Regions from separate parts of the Homo sapiens genome. Here regions 1, 3, 4, 5, 6 and 7 are each linked to region 2. Evidence: promoter capture Hi-C in 16 types of primary human blood cells and fetal thymus (Javierre and others, 2016). All regions are on one chromosome and are shown on one strand. The core of a region is centred on a gene start or on the middle of the fragment in contact, and the rest is flanking DNA. Distances in the headings are between cores, read along the strand shown.

What was found. The method cuts DNA at HindIII sites, captures the fragments that hold promoters and counts their contacts. A CHiCAGO score of 5 or more calls a contact.
Region 1: a contact is called between the fragment with the promoter of PLEKHA2 here and the fragment with the promoter of LONRF1 in region 2, in 1 of 17 cell types (non-activated CD4 T cells). The highest score is 6.9, in non-activated CD4 T cells.
Region 3: a fragment that was not itself captured here is called in contact with the fragment with the promoter of LONRF1 in region 2 in 1 of 17 cell types (naive B cells); the score reaches 6.1 in naive B cells.
Region 4: a contact is called between a fragment that was not itself captured here and the fragment with the promoter of LONRF1 in region 2, in 1 of 17 cell types (total CD4 T cells). The highest score is 6.3, in total CD4 T cells.
Region 5: a contact is called between a fragment that was not itself captured here and the fragment with the promoter of LONRF1 in region 2, in 1 of 17 cell types (naive CD8 T cells). The highest score is 6.2, in naive CD8 T cells.
Region 6: a contact is called between the fragment with the promoter of ZFAT here and the fragment with the promoter of LONRF1 in region 2, in 1 of 17 cell types (naive B cells). The highest score is 5.3, in naive B cells.
Region 7: a contact is called between a fragment that was not itself captured here and the fragment with the promoter of LONRF1 in region 2, in 1 of 17 cell types (naive CD8 T cells). The highest score is 5.6, in naive CD8 T cells.

The regions. Positions count from the first base shown.
Region 1 is chr8:38,899,728-38,903,221 of GRCh38, forward strand. It overlaps PLEKHA2 (pleckstrin homology domain containing A2), which reads left to right and starts at 1,619. Exons shown (of 12, transcript NM_021623.2): 1 at 1,619-1,718. It overlaps LOC124901937 (a long non-coding RNA gene), which reads right to left and starts at 1,718. Exons shown (of 2, transcript XR_007060893.1): 1 at 1,486-1,718; 2 at 1-969. RefSeq lists enhancers at 31-220, 281-530 and silencers at 1,131-1,540, 1,621-2,290. The HindIII fragment of the contact is 6,068 bases long and covers 1-3,167 here.
Region 2 is chr8:12,753,682-12,757,061 of GRCh38, forward strand. LONRF1 (LON peptidase N-terminal domain and ring finger 1) reads right to left here and starts at 1,845. Exons shown (of 12, transcript NM_152271.5): 1 at 1,019-1,845. The coding sequence starts at 1,739. RefSeq lists silencers at 244-483, 624-1,163, 1,060-1,250, 1,254-1,593, 1,674-2,343 and 1 more and an enhancer at 1,319-2,138. The HindIII fragment of the contact is 11,195 bases long and covers 29-3,380 here.
Region 3 is chr8:134,821,893-134,825,103 of GRCh38, forward strand. It overlaps a transcript of ZFAT not described here. Among named protein-coding and RNA genes, the nearest start is that of NCRNA00250, 15 kb to the right of the region's middle. The HindIII fragment of the contact is 5,364 bases long and covers 1-3,211 here.
Region 4 is chr8:109,551,955-109,555,393 of GRCh38, forward strand. It overlaps EBAG9 (estrogen receptor binding site associated antigen 9), which reads left to right. Exons shown (of 7, transcript NM_004215.5): 3 at 1,911-1,989; 4 at 2,775-2,933. Among named protein-coding and RNA genes, the nearest start is that of EBAG9, 14 kb to the left of the region's middle. The HindIII fragment of the contact is 1,613 bases long and covers 803-2,415 here.
Region 5 is chr8:109,535,954-109,539,284 of GRCh38, forward strand. PKHD1L1 (PKHD1 like 1) reads left to right here. Exons shown (of 78, transcript NM_177531.6): 78 at 1-1,254. Among named protein-coding and RNA genes, the nearest start is that of EBAG9UORF, 2.1 kb to the right of the region's middle. The HindIII fragment of the contact is 518 bases long and covers 1,159-1,676 here.
Region 6 is chr8:134,711,436-134,714,845 of GRCh38, forward strand. It overlaps ZFAT (zinc finger and AT-hook domain containing), which reads right to left and starts at 1,596. Exons shown (of 16, transcript NM_020863.4): 1 at 1,410-1,596. The coding sequence starts at 1,428. RefSeq lists an enhancer at 1,428-1,607. The HindIII fragment of the contact is 8,105 bases long and covers 879-3,410 here.
Region 7 is chr8:51,900,354-51,903,612 of GRCh38, forward strand. All of the region lies in intron 1 of PCMTD1-DT (PCMTD1 divergent transcript), which reads left to right. Among named protein-coding and RNA genes, the nearest start is that of PCMTD1-DT, 2.7 kb to the left of the region's middle. The HindIII fragment of the contact is 2,805 bases long and covers 194-2,998 here.

The DNA of each region.
Region 1 (3,494 bases), core at 369-2,868, about 26 Mb after region 2:
TGTGTGTTTTGCCCATCGTCCCCCTTTTCTTCCTCATTGAAAGCAAAATGCTCTAAAGCAAACAGTCTTTTTTCACACCTGAGACACCGGCGGTGTTCATTTTTGCTTTGGCAATCAAAATGGAAGAGGAAACTTGTGTGGTTTCATCACTGGTGCTTTCGGGGTGTGTGGGGCGGGCTGTCCTTCTCCCTCGGTCCTGGCTCATCGGCCCGAGCCCCCCTCCCCAGGCCTTGTGGCCTCCGGTCGGTCGTGGAGACATAAGAGGCCGCCTTTCCTCTGTTAACACCGGGAATGTGCCCCAGCCTCTCCCTCCTTCCTGCAAATCCAGTCCTTGTCCTGGAGAACCTCAGCGTCTTCTTATGCCTGCCTCTTTCAAAGCCTCGTAGGATTTACACCTGATTAACAACGTTTGCATTAGGATCGCCAGACACCGGCGCACGGCCCCGCAGGCCCGCGCGAATCTTCTACATTTTCATGTTTCGGATGTTGTCCACCTGACTTGATGCATATTCAAATGTCTCTCTCCCGACGTGGGAGGCCGGAGTCAGAACCTGACAGACCTGCCGTTTACTAACTGGGTACCCAGGGCAAATTACTTCACAAGTCTGAGTCTCGGTTTCCTCACCGTGAACCGGACTGGTACCCATAGGTTGCGGCGTGGATCAAATGAGATAGCGCAGGGGCGGGACCCGCGCACAGCAGCTCTCTTAGTTCCTCTTGGCGAGGTTTACGTAGTAACACATGCTTGTCTGTTTCCCATTTTTTCCCAGAGCACCCTCATGCTCTGGGGGCAGGAAGGGAGTCTTCGCATCACACCGAAAAAGTCCCAACGGGCACGGTGTAGGCGCCTGTGGTCCCAGCTACTCGGGAGGCTGGGGCAGAAGGATCGCTGGACCCAGGAGGTCGAGGCTGCAGTGAGCTATGACTGCGCCACCGCACTCCAGCCTGGGCGACAGAGCCAGACCCTGTCTTGATTAAAAAATAAAATAAAATAAAGAAATTAAAGTCCTTATAACCCTGGTTAGAGCGTTCCCGCCCACTGGTCTCTTAGGGCACATTTAGGACAACCTGAAGAAGCCACTCTTCTTGGGACCCTAACCCTTACCCCAACTCCTCGGTCCCCAAAGGCTAAGGGCTCGGGATCCGAAGGAGGCCCAGCTGAGGTCGCTGGGTGGGGCTCTGGGAGGAGGAAATGGGGTTCTTGAGGGAGCTCGCGCTCCAGCTCGCCTCCTCCTGCGAGGACGCCCCCTGCCCGGACACCTGCTGCCCGAGCGAGCGTCGGGGCCGGGCCTCCCCGCGGGGCAGTCTCGGCGCGCAGGTCCCACCTGCCAGGCGCGGAACGCGGGCGGCCTCGGGCGCAGCCTCCGGGCGCCCCGCCCCCGCCTCCCCCGCGCGGCCCCGGCGCCCGGCCGCACCCCCTCCCAGCCCGCGGCGCCCCGGCACCCCTCTCCCTCCCCGGCGGGCTCCGCGGAGCATTGTACTCACATCCGGGGCTGGGTTTTGCTTTAATGCGAAACGTAATTAACCCGGAAAAAAGAGCCGAGGGACGGGAGAGAAGGAGGGGGCACTGGGGGAGACCAGAGCGAGGGGAGCGAGAGGCGCGGAGAGTTTGGCAGGCAGACCCAGAAATCCCTGGAGCGCGGCGGACCCGGCGGCCGGAGGGGCGACCCCGCCCGATGTAACGCGCCCCGCCCGAGCCCCGGCCCCTGCACGGGGGGGTAAGTTGGGCGCCCTCGCGGGCTCGGGAGTGGAGAGGCGCAGAGGGGCGCGCGGGGGCTGGCGGGGCTGGGGGTGCAGGGGGCGCCCCGGCGGAGGCCTGGCGGCCTAGGGGCGCGAGGGGCGCGCGCGCAGGGCTGAATACGCCGGTCCTAGTGGCTGACAGGCGAGGGGAGGTGGCCGCAGACCCTGGAGGCCTCCTCCAACCCTCTGGGAGAGCCCCGAGGGCAGCCCCTCCTCCAAGTGCCCCGGGTGGCCAAGGTCGCCGCCGCCAGGGGTCGGGCTGCGGGGGGTGGGGCCGCGGAGAGGGTGGGGGCGGGAGTTCTGCTGAGCTGCATTTTCTCACGTTTGCAGCAGCGAAACTTCTCTGCGGGTTCTGGCGCTGGGGCACCGACCCCGCAACGACTGCCCGGGCTGCGGGAGGGGAGGAGAGCAGAGAACGTCCCCAGGCAAGTCCCTTGGGTACGGATTGGGCCATGGAGACTCCTCTTTCACTCCCCCGACTACCTTATTAAATGACAGGCCTAGAAGGCTCCCCTAGGGACTCCTGTCCTTTCCTCTGGGTGCAGCCTGGACTTCGGGCTTCTGGAACTCCAGACAGTGAAAAGGACTGCCCTAAAATGCAGGTTCGGTGCCAGGTTGGGTGAGCCCTCGAGGGGAGCTGTCGTTCTCTCTCTCACCAACTTCTTCCTCACCTTACACGCTTCCCTTTTCTCCTCCAGTCCTAAAGACGATTTCACCAAAATTTTTTTAAAAAGAAAGAGAAAAGAAGGGTGTGGGGGGGGGTGGTGGGAAGCTAGGCCGTTTAGAAGGGAAAAGTGTCCCTGCACGCCCAGAGAGGGGCGCAGGGCCCGCTGCGGCCGGAGCACCCTCACATCTCCTCCCCGGGGCCAGCCCTGCCCCCAGGCCCTAGCCTTAGGGTTTGGCTTCCTTCCTTCTTGGTGAACGCAGGTTCAGGATGTATCTTCCCCTTCTCATTCCTTCTTCCTGCCCGCCCCCTTTCTTTCTTTAGGGCTCCAAGTGGGGTTTTCAGAGGACAGTAAACGGCAGAGAAGAGGGAGGGGAGAGCACCCCACCAGAAAGCCAGCTGTGGCTCTGGGGGCTCTGAAGGCTGAGCTGTAGATGCACTTGGGGCTGAAGTCCCAAGATTGCACTAATGGTGTTCTTAATCTATCTGACCAAGTCCCATTTTCCCTTCTTTTGTCATTTTTTTTCTTTGGTTGCGAAGCCTTCCGAAACAGCAAAGCAAAAGATCTTGAAAGAATAGAAGTTTTTGCTTTCTATTTCAGTTGCATTCAGTTGACATGTATTATACATGCAAGGCAGTGATGAACAAAACACAACCCCTGTCTTTATTTTTTCTTTTTCCTTTACCTCTGGAGGGCTGGACCCTGTCTTTGGCGAGCTTACAGGACTTGTAAGCCCCCCACTTGTTTTGAGAAGCCAGAGTAAGCTTTTAGAAAGCATCATCATCATCTCAGACATTAGCCCTCTTCACCATGTGCCGCCTGAAGGCAGATGACTTTTGCACTATCAGAGGTCTAGCTTGTAGTCTAGATTATGGCCAGCCCAACGTATGACATGTACCAGGTGCTAAGTAAATGTTTATTGCATTAATGAATGAATGCAAACACATGAATTGTTTGCACTTGTCCAAATGGCAGAGAAAAGAGCAGTGTGGTTGTTCCTCAAACCTGTAGGGATTTGGTTCTCCAAGCTGGTACATGGGAGTTATTAGTCCGGATGTTGCCTTTACACCTAAGTATCCTTTGACCCTG
Region 2 (3,380 bases), core at 595-3,094:
AGAACAACTCTTCCTTTTACGTAAGAGAAGCTTGAAACTGCCCCCTTTCAGCGCCTAAAACCACCTTAAGAAGAAAGTGCTAACCTAGGTTAGGAGGCCGAGGCTGCTTCTTGGAGACTAAGAAATGCACTCAAGACCTATAAGGCCTTTCCCCACAGCCTGATCCTAAGTGGAAAGGCCAGGAGAAGCGTGGCAGAGAACTATGGATCAGGCAGCCCCTCTCATCTTTACCATAAGCTAGGTGCACTGCAAAGTACATAGGAAATAAGCAGGATCTGAAACAGGCCAGCTGAAACTTTCAAGAGGAACCAGTTCAGGCATTTCCAGGTAGCAAGGGACCACCCTGGGCAGCTCCGCCCCAAGCCCCAAGCCCGGCGGCCTGCAGGGCCTCCCGGGGCCGGGCGCCCGCGCGGAGCTCCCGCCACGCCCACCGGACGTCACCCGTTACACAACGCCCCCCGCCCCCAGCTTATGCAATTCTGCCCTCCCGCGGTTCCCAATTGTCCCGGTGACTTTTGTGGGTGAGGAAGGGAGACGCCGCCTGCCCGGCCTAGTTGCCCTCGCGGGGGATTCTCTCCCCGCCCCGGCAGTCGTTTCCCCGCGGCGGGCCCGGCCCGAGAGCCAATTCCCGGAAAGCGCGCGGCAGGAAGCGAGCGGCCGCTCGGGATAGCCCAGCTACCACCCATCCCGCGCCGGGGCGGCCTCGGTCCAGGTCACCCACTCCGCGCCGGGAGCGCGCGCCCGACAGCCAGGCCGCGGCCGAGGGAACCCCGCGCCGAGCGCCCCTCCCCGCGCCGCGTCACAGTCGGCTCCCAGGGCGATCCCCATTATGACCGAAGCACCCCGGGGCGCCGCCCCCTCCCACACCCCCCAGCACCCCGAGACCCGACACGCCAGCGGCCCAGCGGCCCCGGGGAAGCAGAGGAGACTCTCGGGGCGCAGACAAGCTCCGGGTCCCCGGCCCTCGGGGCCAGGAGGGTGCGGTCGGCCCGGCCCCGCCGCATCCCCGCGCGGTCACCTGCTCGCAGCGCCTCGCAGGCGGCGGCCAGGGCCTCCCGGTAGCGCCCCTGGTGCAGTAGCTCCCCGAGCCTGCCGGCCGCCCGGGCCCGCTCGCGCTGGCCCGGAAACCACTTCTCGGCCAGGTGGTTGAGGACGACGCTGGTTCTGAAGTCTGAAGCGGCGATGGCGGCGGCCAGAGGCGGCGGCCGCGGGGCGGTCCCTTCAGCATCAGTGGCACTGGCGGTGGCGGGCGGCAGCCGGTCCCGGCAGAGGCGGCAGCGGGCGCGGAGTTCCCTCCGCAGGCAGCGGCGGCAGTAGCTGTGGCCACAGGGCACGGTCACCGGCTCGCTCAGGAAGCCCCGGCAGCCCAGGCATCTGAGGAGCCCGCCGGCGCCGCCGTCAGCGCCTGCAACCGGGGCCGCGCTCCAGCCCAGCCCGTGGCGGAGCCGGTAGTTGAACACCAGGCAGTCCACCAGGGCGCCCAGGCACTCGGGCCTGGCCGGGGCCCCGCGGCGCAGCGCCGCCGCGAACGCCTCCAGCGCGCCCTTCAGGTGGCCGCCCAGCGCCAGCAGCTCCCCGCGGCGGAGCAGCAGCTCCCAGCGCTCCGACTCCGCGGCCGCGCGCTCCAGCCGATGGCCGCTGCCGCCGCCCACTTCCCAGAACCGGCCTCGGCCCTGCGGCGCTGGGGCCATCTCCCGACTCCCTCCTGGGGAGGTCCTCGCCACCGCCGGAGAGGACATGGCCCGCGGAGGGCTGCGCCGCCGCCGCCCGCCGCCACGGTCCCGGAGCCTCCCGGGCGCGCGGCTCCGCACGCGGCCCGCGAGCAGGGGGGCGTGGCGCGCGGACACGGCGGGGCTGCGCGCGCCCGGGAAGCCCCGAGGGCGGGGCCTGGCGAGGGCGGGGCCGGGCTCGGCGACGGCGCCCGGGACTCCCCCACGCCGCCCGCGGCCGCGCTCCCGAGGAGCCAAGCGCTGGGCCCCGCCCCTTCCGAGCCCCCTCCGGGTGGGGGACGCAGGTCGGATGATTCCTCCGTCGGAGATCTAATTGGCTTCTCCGGAAAGGAGGGCTCGGCTCGTGACGGAACAAAGCCGGAAGGACCCCGGAGCTTCAGTCCCCGCTTGCCTGTCTGCCAACGCCGCCACCTGCGGTGGCCCTCGCCCCTGCCGGGGGTTGGGGGACGCTCCCCTGCCGCGCGGGACTCCGGGTCACCACCCCTCCCCCGACGCCCCCGCCCAGGCCGGACCTGCCCCAACTCCTGGCGGGCGGGGGTCTCCCCGCGTGGCCTCGCGCTTGTGCGGGTCTGCATTTTCATAGCTCTACGCCCATGTTCCAGGTGGGCGCGCCCAAGCAGGGGGCCTGGGAGCGCACCTTCGGCAGATGACTGGGACTCTTCGGTTCTAGAGGACTCAACTTTAAATATGAACAAAAAACCCACGTTCCTGGGGCGACTCCCTCCAGAGGGCAAGGAGTTTTTCCTGGTGCCAGGTGACTGCTTGCCCGTCTTGCTTAAAACTCATCGTGGGCCCACCTCGAGGGAGAAAGCCCACAGCTTCCTCAGGTGTCTCCACACCTCAAGCACTGCCTTACAGCTGGTTAAGGTCTATATTTGGCAGTTTTAAAAGAAAACACCAAGAAACATGTTTCACATGGCGGTCACCGTATTACTACAACCCAAGCTGGCTCTGCAGTTTTGCTGACAGAAGAAAATGATCGGGTTGATATATAATGGGTGCTATTTCCCTTAAACTTCACAGCAGCAAGTTTAAAGCTCTCAGCTGAAAATACAGATTTGATGATAGGGTATTAGATCGCTAATGTTGGAAGTCACTTAGGACTTTTAGTCCTTTTTCAAATGATTGGAAACACAGGGAAAGTTATTTGTCAAAAATCACACAGCTAATACAGATTTTAAGATCACGTCTATTCCACTACTACTACGTTAGACTAATATGTAATATTTAATAAAATATGTAATATTTCATAGAAATATATGAGATTTTCAAAGTAAAAGAAGTTGCTAATTGGAAAGTTCACCTGAGCATGCTATGTATGAAATTGGTAAACGTTTAATATTTCTCTTTATAAGGAACAGGCAATTAAGGCTAAAAAATGTTTTGAGTTCATGTGTTTTCACTACACAATCAACAAGTCGTGTAACGTCAGAAAAGACAGAGTTATATTACCCTAAAGGGAATGAATAAAAAAGAGGTGCCTGAGAAAAAGCCAAGCCTCCTGTTCCAACAGGATGCAGACAGAAACAAGTTCATTTATCACTCACATTGCACCTGAAGCAAATTGCAGCTAGATCCAAGGAGCACCTCCTAAGCATTTGGCATGGGAAGCATTGGGATTAAGTCATGAGCATAACCTTAAATCCAATC
Region 3 (3,211 bases), core at 550-3,049, about 120 Mb after region 2:
AATAACAACAACAAGGAAAAACAAAGGTAAGAAGTAAAACAAGAAGTTGTTTGGTCTAATAAACATGGAAATGCATGCTGTTGAGGGAAATGAAATTTTAACAATAGATAACATTAAAGATAGATACAGCGTCTTGGGTTTTTATAGAGAAAACCGGTTTAATCAAAATTGTATTTATTCTAGAATTTATTTTTCCTAATATGACCTAACTCACCATTTTCAGGGGAAATGCAAAACCTATTTTAAAAGTTCCTACGATGGCTGTTGAGAAAAAAATTTGTTAATATTAAGAGTTAGTGTTCAAATTACAAGACAATATTAGTATACTGACCAATCGTATAAGCATTCAAATTTCCCATGGTAGACTATTACACAGCATGTCACTGGCATTGAAAAATGATCCCTTGCTAAGTCTTCCTTTATTTCCTGGCACTATTCAAAATCCAGCACTTTTCCAGTCTCCATTCCCAGCTTCCAAATTCCCATATGTTCTCTGCATACTCTGGACACCCTAGTAGGTCATAAGTAATAAAGATAAGTACCCGATTTAGCTTTATATCCCAGCCCCTCATCTTCAACTCACAGCTTGCATAAAAAACACTAAAATTTATTAAAATTTGAAAAATTTCTGATTTTCAAAACACATTTCCTTCCTATAATGAAAATTTTTTAAGTTACCCAAGTAACTTTGATTATATTTTAATTGTTATGAGAGCATAAGTGTGAGAAAGTAAAGGTGGGCTAGAAGGACAGATGGGGGATTATTACAAGAAATATACTTTTATAAAGAATACTTTATAAAATAACTTGGAAAAAACTCTTCTTCCCTTAAATTTTTCTTTGTGTACTACATGTGCATATTTTCACAGGATTTAATAGGACATGGTCCCTGACACAAATTACTAAAGCCCTACCTACTTCTCTCACTGCAGGTATGCATCTTACAAAGTAAGATTAAAAAGCGGCTTCATTGACTTAGGAAAATTAACTTGCACATGCCTTTTTGGAATATAAATTCAGATTTTTAAAAAATCTATTCCCCCAAGCCAAAAAAGGAAAATGTGGGGGAAAAAAAGGGGAACATCTGTTCTCTACTAAGGAATATGAAAGTTTAGGACTGACTTAAAGTACAGGTTAAGGCTTAAGAACTTGCCACTGGAATTCTGTACTATTTCTCTTCCTGCTCTGTTGTGGACACTACCAACACCTGGTCATGGGAACTCAATGATAAGCTCAGAAATCAGGAGAACTAGTTTCAAATCTCCCATGTCAATCCATCCAACGGGAACAGCCTACATTTCACTGGGAGACAGGACAATACCTCAGTAGAGATAGCAGTTTTGGAAAGTACTGAAACAGTTGCCAGTCTAAAACACAGTAACTAACTAAAAATCTTAAGTTTAAAAAAAATTAGATACTCAAGTATTAAAGCAATTATCTTTAAAAGATGAAAATGATGCACAATAAATATTGATTTAAGAAGCCACTTCAAATTAATTACAGTTAACATGTATTGAGTATTTTCTGTATGTCAGGCATTCTTTTAAGTGCTTATATACATTAATTCCTGGCTACTCTTCCCCACAGCCATATAAAGTAATATTATCATTGTGTTCATTTTACTGATGAGAAAAAGGAGGTATAGAATGGTTAAGTAACTTGCCTAAGACAACACAGCTACTGAGAGACAGGAGAGTGATAGGAATTCAGGCAGGATAGCTCCAGGTTTCATTCTACCTTTAGAGTTGGTATTGCTGTATTACATATCTTGACACTTGAAGGCCCCTTTAAGTCTATCAGCTTTAATCGCATATGAAATATTATCACAGGCAGCCAAGGCTGTATAGAATTATTAAAATGCTTTCACAATCAACTTTTAAGATCAGATCACTGAATCTAAGATATCACTTAAGCCATTAGAATCTAATATAATTTAAAAAAATATTTTGGATTTATTATACTTCATGATAAGTGCAAATGGGTGCCTTTTATATATTTAGCATAATGTCGGACACTGTCACTAAAACTCTTTTGCACAGAACTAGATCTGGGATATTTTATTCACATTAGTGTTTATTAAAGTAATTTTACTACTTCTCAAATTCTAAATGCAATAATTCAACAGACATTTGAATACTGAATAAACACCAAGTAGTATGAATACAAGATAAATTAGATGGTCTCTGCTCTCAAGGGAGGCCACGGTTACAAAACAATGTAATAACTGCTTTTATGGAAAGATGACCAAGGTTCCAAGGGAATTGAGTGCTGCCTAGCTCAAGTGAGAATGGTGGCAGTTCCATGTGCGAAGGCATGCAGATGTAAAAATAACATTTTCCTCTCAGGGAACATCAAACAATTTAAGTAGAATTAGAATGCAGGGTTTACATGGAAAGGAAAAAGTGATCAGAGATAAAGAATAAAGTTGGAGCTAGGGAAAGAAAAGTCTTATCAGTCGTAATAACAATAAAAAAATAGCAAGGATTTAAGCAGGCAAGTGATAAGAGCAAATATGGTAACAATAGAGGCTATCGTATTTTTAAACAACAGAACCTTGCTCAACTGAAATACTATGCAAACTTCCACGCTTAAAATTAATCAAAATAAAACAGCACTGGTTGAAACCGGGATGAAATGCTTGACTTCCTCCAGCACACTCTCAGCAAGAGTTTCAAAATCACTGCTTTAGAAAGTAAAATTATTATCTCTACACAAATATGTTCTACTTACTTCATGCCTCTCCTGACATGATTCTAAGTGCTCAAGTACAATAATTCATTCTAGTAGTTGTTCATCAATTACAGAAGTAGTCATATACAGAACTAATCATATAGCATGAGATCTTCAAAATTAATGACAAAAAATTATAATACAGAAAAAAGAAGATAAAAATTACCAGCTTTTTCACTCAAGTTAAAACTATCATTTAAATGAACACATTTTCTAACCTAAAAGTCAGAATTCATGGTTGGACAAATACTAGTGTATTTATGGACACAGAATATTCAAAACTGGTACAGTGCAGTGCTGTAAGGCATAGAATGTAACTGGCATAAGTGTAATTTTTTTTCCAAGATTGGTAAACTTGAATTTTCCTAACAATGACCTTCTGTCTAAAAGCCCTTCTCCATCTATAACTATGGTGTCTATTCTTCCACCTTATAAAATTTGGAAATCTAAATGTGATTACTAAAAATGATCATCATTGTGA
Region 4 (3,439 bases), core at 359-2,858, about 97 Mb after region 2:
TGTAACTACCTTATTCAGTGGAATTGTTAGGTGTTTCTGTGGCCTAAGGGTACTGTGAAAAAGTTACTTACATACTAAGAGGAGGGTATAGTAAAAGAGGAAATGGACAGCAATCAGCTCTTTTTTTAATATATATAGACATGACTTAGAGGTTACACACAACAATTTTTGCACTGCCTGCTTTCCAGAGCTTAGTCATATGGCCCCCTAGCTGCAAGGAAGGATAGGAACTGCAGTCTCTGGCTATATGACCATTTGATAGCTGCTAAATTGAACTTATTGCTAAAAGTAGAGTGGTCTGGGATTTAAAAAAAAAAAAAAAATCCAGGGTATTGCAAGAGAACAAGTGGGTGAAATGATCATCTCTGGATGATCACTGGGGCAGAAGTGAAGAAAGAAATGGAAAATTTAGGTGGTTGACTTGAAATCACCCAAGAGGATAGGATTTGGGAAGTAGAAAAAGGAGCAAACTAAGTGTTCAAATTACCAGAGAATGAGGAAGAGAATGGCCAGAAATTCACCAGGTAAAGCAACATTAAAAATGGGTATTAATTGCCAGAAGGCAGGAAGTTAAAAGAAGCATTGTGTTAACAGTGGTGATGAAATGTAGATGTTTTCTTCTTATACTTCTATTTTTTAAAATTTTCATTAAATATAGATTACTTCTAGGATAAGAAATTTTCTTGATGTAAAAATATTAAGGACATTCCTATTGGCACTATAAATTTCTGTTGTAAATGTATACATATTTAGAATTGATTGTATGTTCAGTTTTAAAGAAAACTGACCATATGTTAGGATAAGCTTCTCTTTGGTGTCTGAAGGAACCTTAGACCATGTATTTTAAAATACCAGACTTGGCTAGGCATGGTAGCTCATGCCTGTAATCCCAATGCTTTGGGAGGCCGAGGGGGTAGGATAGCTTGAGGCCAGGAGTTCAAGACCAGCCTGGGCAACACAGCAGGACCCCATCTCTATGGAAAGGAAAAACACGCTTGTATCATAAATTTCATAAAGGACTATATTACTTTTCTATTCACCCTTTAAACAAATATAGCTTTGAATCTGTAATAAAAATAGCTGACTTTATCGTTCTTAGTTCTTAGTTGATGCTTTTTTTTTTTATAGATTATTTGAAGTGAAGTAAATGACTAATTATCTCTATTACCTGCCATTTTTTGTATGTTGTGCTATGTAGCAGGCACACACTGTCTAGGGTTTTTAAATATGTCACTTAATTAAATCCAAACAACCCTGCAAAAGTGGGTTTGAATACCTGCATTTTATAGATGAGGCTGTTGAGGCTGAAAAGTAGGTAATTCTAACTAGACATAATAGAAGTAACATTGAAAACTGTGGTTTACACAGATTCCACAGCCCATGTTCTTAACAACTGAGTTATAGTACGTCCTGTTGAATGTGGTACTTTTCCTACTAATCCTTAAAAGTAAGTTACCATTTGGTTCAAACTAGTGATTTTTAAACTTCTTAATAGTTAATCTTATCAAGAAACCCCATGTGTAAAACATAAAAGCCAAGCCACCCTGTTTAAAACAGCAAAGGTGGCCCAGAACTTCACCCACAGAACCCACAGCACTCCAAGGAGCATGCTCTGAAACCGTCTTGCATTTTTATTTTTGACTTTATATTCCTCTTGAGTTTGTTTATAATTCTGAGTCCTAAGCCAAAAAGCAGTTATGTTGTTCTGTCCAAGATTTAAAAAACATTCACAGGATGTCTGATTTATGACTTTTTTTTACCATAAATTAGTGAGTAACTGTTACTAAAATCAATAATCATAAAATTGAGAAAGATCTTGTTTTATAAGCCTTCAATTACCATACATAATAGTGCTTTTACTTTGCTTGTTTTGGTGGTTCTTGAAATAAATTATTTCATTTTTGTTTCAGATCTGGCAGAGGACGGAAATTAAGTGGAGACCAAATAACTTTGCCAACTACAGTTGATTATTCATCAGTTCCTAAGCAGGTAGGTTTTTTTTGTGTGTTCTTTTGTTTTGTTTTGTTTTGAAAGATTGAATAAGTGTCCTAGAACAATATTTTAAAAACTGGATTGCAGATCATTAATAGAAATTAATTTTTGTTGTGTTGTTAAATTTATCTGGTCTGAAAATTCTATTTGGTTCTACATTTTATCTTCTGTTTCTTTGTTGACATTTTCTATTGTGTTTTCATTGGTTTCAAGTGTTTGCTATTGTTTGTTGGAGCATTTTTATAATAGCTATTTTAAAGCCTTAGAGAATTCCAACATATCATTTTGGTGTTGGTATCTGTTGATTAACTTGCCTTGCAAATTTAGATGTATTGTTTTTATATGCTGAATAATTCTGGGTTGTTTCATGAACATTTTGAATACTATGTTTTGAGACTTCATCTTATTTAAATCCTGTGGAGAAGCTTGGTATTTTTTATCAGATGATCAATCTGGATAGGCTTGGGTGAAAATGTCCAGCCCTTCTGTGAGTTGTAGTTTTAATGTCAGTTCAGTTTTCAGAGCATTTGCTTTCGTTTTACTTTGTTTTTTGTTTTTTGATGGACATAATAGAATAAAATAGAACAGAATATATCAGAATGTCTTGTATTTTTTGAACTTTTGATCAAGTTTTGATCTGTGATATGAAATGTATGTTTTCCCGTGGGTTAAAAAAGTTTGAAAACCAGTGTTTTAGAAAGCCCATTTTTCTAATAAATCATCAATGATGTGTTCATTAAGTTGCCCCTTTGTGGCTGATAATGTTGATCAATTAAATTTAGACAGATGTTGAAGAGTGGACTTCCTGGGATGAAGATGCACCCACCAGTGTAAAGATCGAAGGAGGGAATGGGAATGTGGCAACACAACAAAATTCTTTGGAACAACTGGAACCTGACTATTTTAAGGACATGACACCAACTATTAGGAAAACTCAGAAAGTATGTTAAGATTTATGCTTTTGGAGATTAAACTACTTTTTAGATTCCTATAGTTAAAATTAGGTGATACAATTCACATTTATTAGAAAGCCTATTTCTTTTTTTTTTTTTAATACTTTAAGTTTTAGGGTACATGTGCACAACATGCAGGTTAGTTACATATGTATACATGTGCCATGTTGGTGTGCTGCACCCATCAACTCGTCATTTAACATTAGGTATGTCCCTAATGCTATCCCTCCCCTCTCCCCCAACCCCACAACAGGCCCCAGTGTATGATGTTCCCCTTCCTATGTCCATGTGTTCTCATTGTTCAGTTCCCACCTATGAGTGACAACATGCAGTGTTTGGTTTTTTGTCCTTGCGATAGTTTGCTGAGAATGATGGTTTCCATCTTCATCCATGTCCCTATGGAGGACATGAACTCATCCTTTTTTATGGCTGCATAGTATTCTATGGTGTATATGTGCCACATTTTCTTAATCCAGTCTATCAGCATATTTCTA
Region 5 (3,331 bases), core at 168-2,667, about 97 Mb after region 2:
TCCTATGCCTTTAAAACAAAGGGAACAAAGAAGGGAACAAAGAAGGTAGAAGCGGGGGTATGGAGGGTTGACTTCTGGCTGTCCCTCCCTGTTTCCCTTTGTTAATATATTGCTAGTAGACATGTCTACTTCTGGTTGCTGATGACATAAAATTCACCTCTATTTCTTGGAAGCACTATTCCATGTTGTGAGCTAAAGGGGATTGTACTGATCTTGAAGATAACAAATCTGCCTGCTTCAAAGGTTTCACCGATTTTATTGCTGTGTTTCCAACACATTTCCACATATGGTATGATATTTAATTTGCAAAATAAATCCGTAAAGCAGGAATTACTAACCTAATTTTGCAGATGAGAAAACTGAGGCTTAAAGTTGTTCAAGGTCAAAGTCACGATGTCCATCATGCTGTAGCTCAATGAATGAGTCTCACATTGTTTCATGTTGTTTTATTTCTACTTTCTCAATCCATGTACAAGATAGATTTACAAACTACTGTTTTATGTTGGTTGTATGAATTTCAATACATTTACTGTTAGAAATAACAAAAGGTCTTAGACTGCCAGATGCTGTTCCCATCAACTCTACTTAATTCATAATATAGCTGAACTCTGTCATAAATCTAATAACGATGTGGACATTAGCCAGAAGTATGATGTGGCTGAACCTCACCACTGAACACAAAATGAGAATTCACCTCATCTTTTCATTTGAATTTATTTCTACTAAAATATATGTATTATTTTTCTTGATTTCTAACCAGGCCCCTTCTGAAGAAAACTGGTTAACTCTAAATTGTTACTAAATTTTGAATCTTCCTGTATTTAGCAATAAAAGTTACTGCTAATTGTAATAACAATTATGAGGAAAAATTTATTTAAATGCTTCATAGAAAGTTAATTTTCATTTAATAGAAAAGAAATAAAAAATCTGCTTCAGACTGTTTGATTTCTCTATTAGGCAATTGACCCTAACTAGTATATGGTGATTTTGAGTATTAAAAAAGAAGTTATAATTTTCCAGAATATTAATGTTTATTATTTTGAAAGCAAGTAAAATTCTCCAGTAGGAAGATTAATAAAACAATTCATTAAAATTCTCATCAGAAAATCCTATGCTTTCAAATGTATCTGCTCAAAGATGTCACTCTATGTGCGGCAAAGCTTTGTTTTACTTGATCAAGAAATGAATGTGACTTTATGATCTTGTATTCAACTGTGAACAGCTGCTCATTAATAAAAAGCCATTAAAGTCCAAGTCAGAACAGCAGGTCTAAAATTGTGTTTGAGGGAAAAAAAACCCACCCTTTGATGAAAAGCCAGGGAACTGGGTTGGGAAAGATCTGGAAGCAGAGGGCTGTGTTTGCAGTCTGCTCCTACCTCCTGGGCCAGGTCAGGTGACAAGGCCAGAGTTAGCCCCAGCTGGAGAAGTCAGAACAAAGCCTATGTAGGCTTTGAAAGGGGAGAGTAAGTGGTGGGCTGGAGGTTGATAGTGTGAATAAATCAAGCTGGTAATTGGGCAGAGGCTGATCAGAAGCGTTAAAGTGAGCAAAATGGTTTGGACACAGAGCAGACAGAATTTACTATATTCCATTGAGTAAAAGAAATTCATATGCCAGGTTCTATCCCTTATGTTCCTCCCATTTGACATCTGGTGGTTTCCTACCCCCGTCCCACACAAGCTTTGGGGAGAGGACAGGACTTAAAGTTCCCTGTTCCCAAGAGGTGGTCCCTAAACCCAATCCCAAATTATTGACTTGTGATCCCAATTATGGGCTTACTATTTAACAAGTAAAGATGATTTTAAAATATTATTTTATAGGTATTACTAAAGTAAATTTTAAATTTGCAGTCTTTAGCGAGCTTTGTTTTCTGTTTTGCTATTGTGTTGGGAAACAAGTACTCAGTAACTAGCTGTTTCTGGAAAAGTATATACATTTCGTTTTGTTTCATTTGGAAATGGCAAATTTAATAAAGAAAACTGAAGAATCAGGAAAAAGAAGAAAATATCCTTGGGCATAATAAATTGTCTAAAGCAATCAACTCTTTAAGAAAAAAAATTTAAACACGTTTATATCCGAATATAGGTTATTTTGGATTTTTTTTTTTTTTTTTTTTGAGTCAGGGTCCTGCTCTGTCTCCCAGGCTGGAGTGCAGGGCCCAATCATGGCTCACTGTAGTCTCGACCTCCCAGGCTCAGGTGATTCTTCCCACCTCAGCCTTCTGAGTAGCTGGGACTACAGGCATGCGCCACCAAACCTGGCTAATTTTTAAATTATTTGTAGAAACGGAGTTTCGCCCGTTGCCTGGGCTGGTCTTAAATTCCTGGGCTCAAGCGTTCCTCCTGCCTCGGCCTCCCAAAGTGCTGAGATTACAGGCATGAGTTACCGTGCCCAGCTAGATAACTCGATTTTTTAAATCCAAAAAAAATTTAGAAATTTTATATTGAAATTTAGGCATTAGAATTCTAGAGATTAAAGTTAGAGCAGGTGTTTAAGGGACTGAAAGGGGTTGCATGGCCTTTGGGAAATGCAATTACCGGAAATGATACTGTAGTAATGCAATAGTAATGCAGTAGTAGTAGTAGCTGCAGCAACAACTGTTATCTATGAATGTTTGCTATGTGCCAGGCTCTGTGCTAAGAGAGCTTTGCAAGCATTACTACTGCATGAAGTAGGCACTATTATGGCCATTTTACTGATGAGGAAATTGAGGTGAACAGATTAAATAATTTTACCCAACTTTACACAGAACCATTCCAGAGCACGAGCCATAAACACATCTTTCCCGTCTTGGAAATTAAATTATTAATAAAAAACGTGGTGCAAATTGGAAAGAGGACGGTTGTGGTAGATTATCACAAAGTTAAGTGGGTAGGTGGTTGCTGGGTCAGGGTGGGAGAACAAAGGCAGCTGTAATAAAAAAAAAAATTAAAGGCATATAAAGAAAAAGGCTTGTTGAGAACAATTTGCATAAACTGATTTTGGCCTTAGACCCTATTCACTTCTCCCTCACCAGTCACTTTGCAACTGTGGAGCATAGTATTCTGAGGGTCCCCTGCACATAACAACCCCTTTCATAGCATACAAGATAAAAAGAAGAATCAGGCTGCAAAGAGAGAAGCACTGAAGGAAAGAACATCTCAGGTTGAAAGAAGGGCAAGTCCAGGGTGCATGTGAGGAACAAATGCATGGACACGGTGAAGTGCCACTTCTTCATTTCTAGTTCAACACAATTCAATTAAAAATTACTGGGAGGAGGCTACGTCTTGAATTAAACTCAGCATTCCACATCTTTGAGGTGGCGGAATGACTGAGGGGAGGGGGTCTGTCTAG
Region 6 (3,410 bases), core at 346-2,845, about 120 Mb after region 2:
TTTTAGGCTAACCTAAGACAGCACACCTGAATCAGCTGGGCACCACAGCTAATCAGCGCACCTGTGGTCACAGCTACTTGGCAGGCTGAGGCGGGAGGTTTACCTGAGGGCGGGAGGCAGAGGTTGCAGTGACCCGAGATTGCACCATTGCACCCCGGCCTGAGTGATAGTGCGGGACTCTGTCCCAAAAAATTAAAAAAATTAAATTAAAAAAAAGCACGCCTGATATAGTTCGGGTCTCCTGACCCAATATTCGGCTCTGGGCCCACTCTGTCACTCCAGGACACATTCTCCCACATCTAGCACCGCAGCAGGTGGAGGCAGGACTACGACTGGGACTGCTCTTTACCCCTGCCTGGCGTGCAGAGGGGATCCTTGCAAAGCTGTTATTTGAACTAAAGTCAGGAAAGGTGTCCCTGGGGGTTAGAGGTAGGACACGCTACTTCCTTCAGCATGGGGACACACACTACAGATGTTTCAGTAGATGAACTGGTAGGCTCGGAAGATAAAGCTGGTGAGAGGCAGCTGTGCGGGGCATCTCCAAAAGGTCACTTGGACTCCAGCAAAAAAAGCCAGACTGATGGGCAGGCGTGATCAGTTAGCGCGTTCGTTCTTTCATTCACTAAGTATATAGTGAACACTTACATGAGCCAAGCCCTATTCTAAGAAGATGGAGGTACAAGTCAGGCGAGCACGCAGGAGTTTGGATTTTAGCCCAAGTTGGAGGAAGTTAATTTTTAAAGCCCCAGCTCTGTCGTTTTTAAACTGTGTAAAGTTGACCTCTCTGAACTTCTGTTCCTCATAATAAATGACCTACAAATTAGAGTTCTCAAGAGAGCTGAGCAGCAAAACGTGTTAAGTCAGTGCCCAAATGTGGAAGCTTGTGGTAATTACAGGTGAAGGACCCCAAGCTCAAGGTTAAATGACTTGCACCGGGTGTCAAGTGGAAGATCTGTCACTCTATTAGGTCCAGCCGGCGGCCGGGAAGCCTGCAGGAGGTACTCATTTCGCCAAGGAGGAATCCGAGGCCAGGCAAGAAGGAAGCCCCGCCAAGGTCCAGTCAAAGAGCTGGCATCGCCGGGATTCGAACCTCGCGCCCACTGCGTTCCGTCGCTGGCCCGCGCCCCAACGCCACCCATTGCCGTGGAAACGGCCGGGCGCATGCTCTCCCACTCGCTCCCGCCTTGCTTTTTTTTTTTTTTTGCGGCGGGATACCCCAGCGACTGAACGTGAGCCGCAGAACGCAACTACGTTCGCTCTCCTCCCCAGACCCGGATCCCTCCGCGGCCGGCGGCCGGCGGCCGGCGGCCGGCGCACTGCTTCCCGACTCGACGCTCGAAACGGCTTTCCGCGCGCCGCGCCGCGCCCCACCCCCACCCCGTCTCACCCCAACCCCCAGCCCGGCTCACCTGCCGCCCGCGTCTCCATGGCAACGCCCCACCGCGGAGGAAAAAAAAGCCTCGGGCTCTTCCGGGCCCCCTCCCGTGCCGACCGAGGGGGCGGGGCGCCCTGCTGACGCTTCGCTTTTTATTTTTATTTTTTTAAGAAAAGAGCCGGCGAGGTTATGGCGAATCTGCGGCATCCAACATGGCGGATGGAGTCTTCGCCCTCCTCCCCACGGGGCGCAGACGCCTGCGTAGCGGACGTCCGCTTCGGGTGACCCTCCCCCGGCGCCGAGCGCGGCCCGGCAGGGCCGAGCTAACGCGCATGCTCGCAGTCGGAGGCCGTGCTTTTTATCCCACTTCACGGATTCCGCTGCGCCGCGTTTTGAGCCACGCCCAGGGAGGGGCCCTCGGGAGGTCCGGAGCGCGGATCTCGGGGTCAGGAGTCTGGCGGTTGTGCCAGGCCTCTGCTAGCGCGACCCTAGACCCGCGGCATGTGGGGCCGCCGAGCTGGGCGTGCAAGGAGAGTTCTGGGTGCGCTTCGTGTCCCAGCTCTACCTCTCACTACCTAACTTGGGGCAGCGAATTAACTTTTCTTGCTCTCAGTTTACTGATGTGTCCATCGGGGTGCTCCCAACCTGCATCCCGCTCAAAGCTGCGGCGTTTCCCGAAGCGTGGGGTGCTTTCCTTTGGGCCACCCGGCTGGGTTTTAGGGGCTACAGAGCACTGAGCGGCCTACGATCACACGTGACAAGGCGACTTCCTCCTCTCTCGTCTCTTTTTGTCCCACAACAAGTCTGCACTGGATGTGCGCGCCTCCAACACCCGCTCATTCATTTCTCTGCTTGTGGCACAGCCTTCGGCAGGCAGCTGAGTCTGGTGGAAATTTAATGACTTTGTTTTTGGTTTTGATGTTAAGGTGTTTAGCTCCAACACTGTAGTCCTCGGCTCAAATGATATCTTCCAGCCCCTAACCCTCACCCCCCGAAACCCATCTAAAGTAACCCTCCAAGACACTTCATATTTTCTACGTAGCATCCATTCCTATCTGTCATTATCTCCCTCCCTTACCTCTGTCAATGGTCACCCCGTTAGCCTCAGAAACAAACTGAGCCTGACAGTTATTTATTTCATGAGTAATGAGTTGATGTGGTCCATGTTCTAAGGTCATTTTCTGTTCATGACAAATAACGTTTTTCACTTACAGTAGTCATATAAAGTTTTTAAATTGTTCGTTTACATTTTCAAAAATCAGTCAACTTAAAATGGTGTACATGCTGCAAAGACATGCCCCCCCCCCCCCAAAAAAAAAAAGTGTAAAAGCAGACTTCAGGAGACTGAAGTTTGGGAAACTGATTTGTGTTCATGGTTCCCCTGAAATGCTAGTCTTTGCCTGTTCTTCTTTTCCTGGAATAACCCTCTTTGGTTGCTGCTCAACATGAAATTCTCGGACAGCCCTGAAGTTCACACTTCATGTTCCCACAGCTCTGGTCTCACTGGCCTAGCTCCATCCCCCACTTCTCTGTTTGCACAGCGTTCATCCTCACTAGACTGAGCTTCCTGAGCAGCCCTTATAGGTCCTTTTCATCTTGTTTTCTCAGCGCCTGTTGCATAGTCATATTACTGAATGAACACTTCGTTCTGGGGTCACTTATTTTTTAGGAGGAAAACTCCCTTGGGCATTGAGCTTCAGGATGACTCATCTGATTTCTCAGGAGACTGCCCGCCTGCTCCTTAACCCTGTTCTTGGGAAATACGGAACCATGAAAAGACCCTAAAGTTGTCCAGTCTGTTAAATATATGCTCACAGATATAGCCTCCCCCTTCTTCATTTCATCCTCGCAATCTGGAAGGTTAAGTTGGGCAATATGATTATTGTCCTTTTCCAGATGAGAAAATGGAATGTTCAGAGTGGTCAAATGGCTTTCTGAGATTACACAGCAAAATAGTGAAGAGCCAGGTGTGGATCTCGCCTCTCCATGCCCAGTGTTCCTCTCCCCACCACATCTAAAATGTACCCAAACTGCC
Region 7 (3,259 bases), core at 346-2,845, about 39 Mb after region 2:
TGTAGCATGATTTGCTTCCATCGTGTGAATTCTGTTCGGTTTTGATTTTCAAGTATGAGAGTGAGCGTAAGCTACCCTTATAGGTTACCTAAGGTAAGTTAGAATTAGAACGTCTTTATGCTAGGGTTACTACTCCCCACCATAACCAACCATCTGCAAAAGCGTTCAGAAAGAACATGCTAGCAAGGTCAAAAGCTTCAAATCACGAAATAAGAACTTGAAAACGAGCAAAATTGCTGCTGAGGCGCTCTGCCATTTAACTCAAAGGCTTCACTTTATTTAGGTTTAAAGTATGAGTGCATATTCAGTGGACATTGAGCTCCGAACTGTTCAAAATCTCTATTCATCTGCATTCTGGAGTAGAGCTGCGGGTCACATTATTAGCTCCATCTTTGGATTTCTGCCTGGACCCAGGGCACTCCTAACCGTTGTGGGATCATATAACAATCTTACAGGATGAATTTTCTGTTAGTCCAAGCAGAAATTTTGGCACATGAAAACTATCTTACCATAAACAAACAAAAAAAGTACAAATGGTAATCTAAGGAAAATAGCTAAAATCATTAAACAACTCTTACAGCCGTTTCCCCTGTTTTCTCTCCATTTTTTAAAAGCATATTTTCCTTTACTTTCTTCCTTCTGCTATGGGAATTTTTCAGGGTTCTAGACCTTTTTTCTCTTCTGCGGCTGGAAAGTTAAACACAGGTCATTTTTTAAATAAGACTGCTAGTAAATACCTTCTTAATAAACAACACCAAATGCTAGTCTTGTGGGTGAGTAGTTGAACAGCAAGTAAAGCACTCTATCACCTGTAATTTTCCTGTGGTAGGCACACCCCATCTCTACCTTCACGTAATTTCTGATTATGCCTCCATACCTTACACATATAATTCATTTGTGGGTGGGGGCGACAGAGTCTTTTGCTCTTTTGCCCAGGCTGGAGTGCAGTGGCAACCTCTGCTCACTGCAACCTCCACCTCCCGGCTTCAAGCAGTTCTGCCTCAGCCTCCCAAGTAGCTAGGATCACAGGAGCGCACCACCACCCCCTGCTAATTTTTGTATTTTTAGTAGAGATGGGGTTTCCCCTGTTGGCTAGGCTGGCCTCAAACTCCGATCTCAAGTGATCCACCCGCCTCGGCCTCCCAAAGTGTTGGGATTACAGGCATGAGCCACCACGTCTGGCTATAATTCACTTCTTGTGTGTGACTTCCTACTAATTTGTAATCATGAAAGTTGGGCACATACCCAGTATGCTCACTATTTCTCTGCAGGGCCTGATACAGTGGCTGCTACAACACTGATACTCTGCATTTGTTGAATGAGTAATTTAAATTTTAAATTATCATCTAGAATCATTTAGAGATTTATTTAGACTTTGATAAATTTAGATAACCCACACACAGTTTATTCCTAGAGTTCTTGATACATTGTTACAGTAAGTTTGGTCCTGGCAACAGCAATAACACTTACTGTAATAACTTAATTCTTCATACGAGGTTGCTTCACTTTTATTATTAAGCAGAAAATACCCAAAGTAAAATTGAGCTATTTGGGACTCCTTTCAGAATACTGTGTAGGCTGAAGCATTGTTGTATCAGAAGTGCTCTGTTATTTGAATGCATAAGGTATTCAACAAACAAATGCTTATTAAATTAAATGGTATTCAGCATACAGCTACTGTCACCGTGCTAGGAGTTCACATTTTTCATATGCGTGGCAGTTAGCACTGGTGCATGTTTCCTTCAGCCTCAGAAATGGAGGTGTCTGCGTGTTGCCCAGATCTACCTTGAAAACTCTAGTTGCTTCCTAACACCTAGGTTGTATAGTGGGACTTGATTATGTTTTATAAAGCCAAGTCTGGTCTGTGAGGACTGAAAGGATTTCCTCATCTTAACTCTAATTTGGCCTGCAATGTCTGGGGAAAACCCAAAACTAAAATGTAACTAAATGTGGAACTGTTTTTTTCTGCAGTTTGATTTCCTTGTACCATTTTCAGTACAGTTAAATTCATCACCTCCCCTACCTCACCATCCCCCTCCCCCTGCAAAAAAAAAAAAAGCAAAAACAGAAGTATTTTCTCTCTTAAAGAGAATTGTCATTGGCCAGGCACAGTGGCTCACGACTATAGTCCCAGCCCTATAGGAAGCAGAGGTGGGAGAATCATTTGAGCTCAGAAGTTGCAAGATTTCAAGATCAGCCTGAGCAACATAGTGAGACCTCATCTCTGCAAAAAATTTAAAAATTACCTGAGTGTGGTGATGCATGCCTGTAGTCCCAGCTATTCCAGAAGCTGAGATGGGAGGATTACTTGAGCCCAGGAGTTAGTTTCTAATTGGATGTAGTCTGCACAGGCAGATTTCATTTTCAGTATTAAAAAGGTCAGTAATTTCTGAAATATTCACTTGACAATTAATAGGATTAAATGACTTTGGGAAAGCATAATTTTATTTTAAATTGCACATATAATCCCTCAATTACATAGATTTTAATGCTAGGATAATCTTCCAATAAAAGGAAATATAAGTTATCAAAAAATGAATTTCTTTTAGAAAAATAAGCATTTATAATTTATTGTCTACAGTAAACAAAAAGTGACTTTAACTCACAAGTTAAAATTACTCTTATATGGTGCTTAATCTATATAAATATCTTTCCTTTATTAAAAATTCTGCTTCTTAAAAAACAGAATCATGGAGTGGAGAAAAAGGAAAACTTCTGCTTGTAAACTTAAGTGCATCAAAACTGTGGATAAACATCTTTTTAATGTATATGTAAAATTTAATATTTTTTAAAGAATCTATTAAAGTTCAATAAACATTTTCTGACACTATGATAGATGCTGAGGATATTGCAATAATATATGATATAGCTTCTGTCTTAATAAACTTACATTCAAATAATAGAAGGAGGAAAGTGACCCTTGACATAATAGTAAGGGTACAAATAAAATACTCTTGCTCCATAGTAGTGTTCCATGGCAGAAGTCAAATTTGAATCAAGCTTTGAAATTTGAATAGAATTTTTGAATTATGGAGATAAAGAGAATAGCTATTTTAGGAACATGGAATATAAAAGAATAACGCTTACATAGATCATTTGTTTTCAAAGAGCAGAGATTAATCTGATTTAGCTAGAACATAGAATGCAAAAAGGATAATGGGAGCTAAGCCTAGAAAGATAGACTGCAGCCAGATTTTGGTGGTCATTAGATTGGATGCAACAGCCAGCAAGGAGCCAAAACTTAAGTGTTCACTTTTAT